2 separate regions of the Homo sapiens genome follow, and region 1 is linked to region 2. The links are contacts of gene promoters, found by promoter capture Hi-C in human tissues and cell types (Jung and others, 2019). All regions are on one chromosome and are shown on one strand. The core of a region is centred on a gene start or on the middle of the fragment in contact, and the rest is flanking DNA. Distances in the headings are between cores, read along the strand shown.

What was found. Contacts are between HindIII fragments. The study calls those that stand out against the background at their distance.
Region 1: a fragment that was not itself captured here is called in contact with the fragment with the promoter of DIP2C in region 2 in 2 of the 25 tissues and cell types used here (H1 embryonic stem cells and bladder).

Annotation. Positions count from the first base shown.
Region 1 is chr10:723,882-726,581 of GRCh38, forward strand. No RefSeq gene overlaps it. Among named protein-coding and RNA genes, the nearest start is that of DIP2C, 36 kb to the left of the region's middle. RefSeq lists an enhancer at 1,924-2,424. The HindIII fragment of the contact is 7,237 bases long and covers 1-2,700 here.
Region 2 is chr10:688,387-691,086 of GRCh38, forward strand. It overlaps DIP2C (disco interacting protein 2 homolog C), which reads right to left and starts at 1,282. Exons shown (of 37, transcript NM_014974.3): 1 at 1,108-1,282. The coding sequence starts at 1,192. RefSeq lists an enhancer at 1,657-2,592. The HindIII fragment of the contact is 17,538 bases long and covers 1-2,700 here.

The DNA of each region.
Region 1 (2,700 bases), core at 190-2,689, 36 kb after region 2:
ACGCCATCATCACCATGCCCAGCGTCACGTGACATGGATAGAGTACATGTCAGGGGTATCACTGTGTGGGAAAAGGTCACACCATCATCACCACACCCGGCGTCATGTGACAGGAATACAGTACGTGTCAGGGGTATCACTGTGTGGGAAAAGGTCACGCCATCATCACCACGCCCGGCGTCATGTGACAGGGATACAGTACGTGTCAGGGGTTTCACTGTGTGGGAAAAGGTCACGCCATCATCACCATGCCCAGCATCACGTGACATGGATACAGTACGTGTCAGGGGTACCACTGTGTGGAGAGATGGTCACGTGGCCAGGACGTAACAGACAGAACGTGGAATCCTGGGCTTTTGCTTCACACACAAGTGCTCTGTGTATCCATTCTCCCCTGAATTTGTCCACACGTTCAGTACATGTTTAGTGAGCACCTACTATGTGTTGGACACTGGTATTCAGCTCTGGGGATGCGGTGGTGGGAGACAGAGCCTCCGTCCCTCTGGACCCCCAACACCCCACAGTGCTCTCTGATCTCCCATTCTCTCGGATCAGTGTGTCCAGGTTCCTGCCACAAACCCACCCTGTGCAATCGGCTGCAGCAAGTCAGTTCAGCTGCCCGGTCCAGTCACTCCAGACGAAGCTCAGGGTGGCCGTCTGGCTGTTCTCAGACCCACGAAGGCCATGCTTCACTAAAGCAGACATCCTGCATCAATCTAGGAGGGGGTCCAATCTGTGTTGAGTGTTTACGTTATTTAATATCTAGGCAGGCGGGCGCAGTGGCTCACACCTGTAATCCCAGCACTTTTGGAGGCTGAAGCGGGTGGATCACCTGAGGTCAGGAGTTCGAGACTAGCCTGCCAATATGGTGAAACCACATCTACGAACAAATATTAAAAATAGCCGGTCATGGTGGCTCACGCCTGTAATCCCAGCACTTTGGGAGGCCAAGGCAGGCAGATCACCTGAGGTTGGGAGTTTGAGACCAGCCTGACCAACATGGAGAAATCCTGTCTCTACTAAAAATACAAAGTTAGTCAGGCGTGGTGGTGCATTCCTGTAATCCTAGCTTGGGAGGCTGAGGCAGGAGAATCGCTTGAATCTGGGAAGCAGAGGTTGTGGTGAGCTGAGATCATGCCATTGCACTGCAGCCTGAGCTACAAGATGGAAACTCCATCTCAATAAATAAATAAGCAAACAAAAAAATAGCTGGGCGTGGTCATGGGTGCCTGTAATCCCAGCTACTCAGGAGGCTGAGGCAGGAGAATCACTTGAGCCCAGGAGACTGAGGTTGCAGTGAGCCGAGATCTTGCCATTGCACTCCAGCCTGGACAACAAGAGCAAAACTCTGTCATAAAATAAATAAAATAAAATAAAATCTAGGCACATCAAACTTTTGTAGATGAAATTCCATCTTAATATAAACTTTCTATATAAATCCTTGGGTCGAGTAAAGAAAATAATTACCCGTTAACTTATTTGTTTTTGATATCTGGGTTTCAGAAGCTTAAAGGAAAACGTGCTGGTGCATTTCCTCTATGTTTAGAAACCTGTAGTATTCCTAGGAGGGGTAGAAGCATCTCCAGCTCTTTCAGAAACTCCTGCAAGATGAGATCAGTTCCGGGGCTGGGCTGGCGTCGGCCTGCAATGGGAGGGCCGTGGATGGAGCCAAATACGAGTTCTACCTGGATTTATGTTGATGAAACACACGCTTTCTGATGTAGCCTCCAGTCCTTGTTCGATTGTGGAGGGTCCTGGATGTTTAACAGCACAGTGCCGGCCCCAAGGGTCCCAGGGCCTGCCGACCACCAGCCCTTCCCAGGGCCAGGCAGCAGCCCTGCCCAGAGCCCAGCAGGGTGTGTCTGGAGCCCACCCAGCAGCTGCCCCGGACCCGAATATTCTGCCTGCAGATCCTGGGAAAGCACCACTCCCTGCTTTGGGTGTCTGCATGTTCATAGCACGTTCTCGCTGACATTACTCTGCAGGAAAAGCCCTAGCTGAGAGGCGCAGAAGGCGGGTGCGGCCCCCTCCCTGGTCCTCCCTGTGGGCGCTGCCCAAGCCTCAGCCCTATGTTTCACCAGGCCCAGCCCACATCCCTGCTGGCCTCTGAAGTCCCATCGGCCCCACCCTCCCTGACTTCCTCAGCCTTTCACTGTCCTGGTCTTCGCCTTTTCCCTCATTTCCCGAGCTGCTGTGCAGTGGAAACACTGACTGTGTCTGATCTACTCAAAACAGCATATTTCAGCTCACATTCATCAAAACGCAGCGTCATGCCTAGGAACTGAGGGTGTGGAGGGGATGTGCCCGGGCCGAGCATGTCCTCATGGCCAGCAGCTGTGGGGCAGACACCAGCCACCTCCAGGACTGAGCAAGACCACAACCCTCCCTGGTGAAGCTGCTTACCCTGAGACGAGCCTCACCCAGCCCCATGACGACGGCCACCCTGTGTTCTCCCATATTCATTCATGCACCCGTCGGCTCACCCGTCCACTCACAAGCACCGTATGGTTCACGCACCTGTCGGCTCACCCGTCCACTCACAAGCACCGTATCGTTCACGCACCCGTCGGCTCACCCGTCCACTCACAAGCACCGTATCGTTCACGCACCCGTCGGCTCACCCGTCCACTCACAAGCACCGTATCGTTCACGCACCCGTCGGCTCACCCGTCCACTCACAAGCACCGTATTGTTCACGCA
Region 2 (2,700 bases), core at 32-2,531:
CTTTGCCCTGAAAGTGTTAAAAAGGAAAACATAAAGTCAACACCAGCTCCTCCCTGCCGGTGAAAATTGGCACGAATGAGTTTACTTTCTGGCTGCCGGCCCTCACAAAACCGTTACCCAAAAAAAGTTCACCATGCTAAACTGCTCCAAATATAAATGTGAGACGCGCCGGCCCACCCCCACCCCACCCCACGTTACAGGAATGGCCTGACCAGGATGAGCCCAGAGACGGCTAAATGCACATCAAACATTTCAGATTTGGGAACTTCAGTGGTTTTGGGGAAAAGACCTGGCAAAGCCCGATCTGAAACTTATGACAGTTGAGCACATGATCTCCGCCATGAAGAGCAAATAAGAGGCGTACACAACCCTCCATAAGACCGCGGTGGCTGATCTGCCACAAACCCTCCTACGAGAGGACCAGGACGGCAAGGCCGGAGCCCGGCCCGGGGGGAGGTTGACGATTCCGCCCAGCCCTCCCCGCGCAGCGCCCGCGAACAATGGGGGTGGGATCCCCCGGGCCGCGCCAGGACCGCTGCACGGCCTGAGCCACCAGAGATCGAACCCGGGGTCCAACGACAAGTTTCGCATTGAAATCTGGCCGGGCGTTCCAGGCCGAACCCGCCAGCGAGGAGGTGGCGCGCACCGCGCTGCTGCACCAAGGACGCCGCGGCTCCAGCGCAGAGCGCACGGGAAGGCCGATCCCGCCGGGCCCGCTGCATCCTGCGTCCCCGCGCGGCGCCCAGGCCCCACAGACACCCCCAGGGCGCGGGGGGATCGCGGCCCCACAAACATCCCAGGGCGCGGGGGATCGCGGCCCCACAAACACCCCCAGAGCGCGAGGGGATCCCAGGCCCCACAGACACCCCCAGGGCGCGGGGAATCGCGGCCCCACAAACGTCCCCAGAGCGCGGGGGATCGCGGCCTCACAAACGTCCCTAGGGCGCGGGGTCTGGGGGTCCGGGGGACGCGCACGCTCCGGGCTGGGGTCGCACCTCCCCCTCCGGGCCCGGCCCCCGCCCCGCCGCAGGCCCCGCGCCCCCAGCCCTCCGCGCGCGGCCCTCCCCGGTGACAGCGCGGCCCGGCCCGGGGCGGGGGCCCGGTTACCTTCCGACAGCTCCAGCTCCAGCTCGGCCAGGCGCGCCCGCACCTCCAGGGGCAGCGCCATGCCCTCCAGGCTGCGGTCCGCCATGCTCCGCGGGCGCCGCGCCCCGCACGGCCTCCTCTTTGTTCGCAGGCGGAGGTCTCGGCGGCTCCTCGCGCCCGGCGGAACCGCACCGAGGAGGAGGCGGCGGCGCGGGCGCGGGAGGCGGGCGGCGGGCGCGCAGGGACCTCCCTCCCCTCGGCGCCTCCTCAGCGCGGCCCCGCCACGGCCGCCTCGCGCGCCCCCGCGCCCCACGGTCCCCGGCCCGCCCCGCGCGCGCTCGGCCCCTCCCCGCAGGCGCTGCGGACCCGGACCCGGCCCTGCTGCTCTCGGCCCCGGCCCGGCGGGAGCGTCTCTGCGCGCGCGCGTCACGGGGCCGCGGGGGCAGGGCGCGCGCGCGCGGGGCGCGAGGACGCGCAGGAGCGGGAGCGCGCGGGGGGGCGCGCGGCCGCGTCGGCGAAGCGCGCGCTCCCGGGGGCGCGCTCGGGGGCGGGTTGGGGGCTCGGGGCCCGCGGGGCGGGGCGGGGCGGGGCGGTCTTGTCTGTCCTGGGCTCTGCGCGTCCAGCGGAGCCTGCGGGCCCGGCCCCAGAGCCTGGTCCACCCGGCTCCCTGCGAAAATCACGTCCTGGAGCCGCAGCTTGACGTCTGCGCGAAAACTCGCAGTGCCCCGGGTCTTGGAGGGCTGGTTTTTTGTTAATGAACATTTTAAGAGGCGGAGACGGAGCGCTAGGCTGGAAGTTTCGAATGCAACGACCAGCAGATGACCTTGAGCGACTCTGAGCCTTTGCCTGGAGGGTCAGTGTCCCCATCTGTGAAAAGGGGATGGGAAGACAAGGTTGGGTCACCTAATCTCCAAATGCCAGGTGGGCCCGAAAAGCCTGGCTCCAGCCCTCCCGGAACAGGCTGCAGGCCCCAGGGTTCCCACCGTCCTTCTCCTTGTGGGGCCATCAGCTCCCAGCCTCAGTGCCACCTCGGCGAGGCTGAAGCCCCGTCTGTGCCTCTAGTCCTGACCATCTGGGGAGGCCCTCGCATCTCCAACCGTCCACTGAGCAAACTTCCCTGGAAGCCCCTAGACACCCCAAACGCCACAAACCCTAAATGAAGCCAGCTGCTTCCAGTGACTCTTAGTCACTGGAAGTTCTGCTTCTCAGAACCGCCCCCGTTGTCTTCATCATCACCTTCCTCTGTCTCCACACATCCTCCCCAGTCTGTTGCACAAAGCCCCGACGACCTGGCCTCCTTTTCATCCTTGTACCCCCTCTTCCCAGCCCGGCCCCTCCCTTAGGCCCAGAGCTTCCTAAAGACCTCCTCGCCTCCCCGTCCTCCACGGGACATTGGCCAGCGCTGGCTCCCGGAGGCCCAGCTGCACTCACTCCCCTTTCAGAGTGGGCCGCAGGAACACAGGTCCCCCACCTCACCCCCCTACCCCTACCCCCCACCACCCCCCCACCCCGCTTCGACCGGAGCCCCCACCAGCCGGGACCCACCTGCACGGCAGCCTTGCGGCCTCCACACTCCGGCTCCTGCAAACAACGCGGCTGACCCGCAGCACCTCT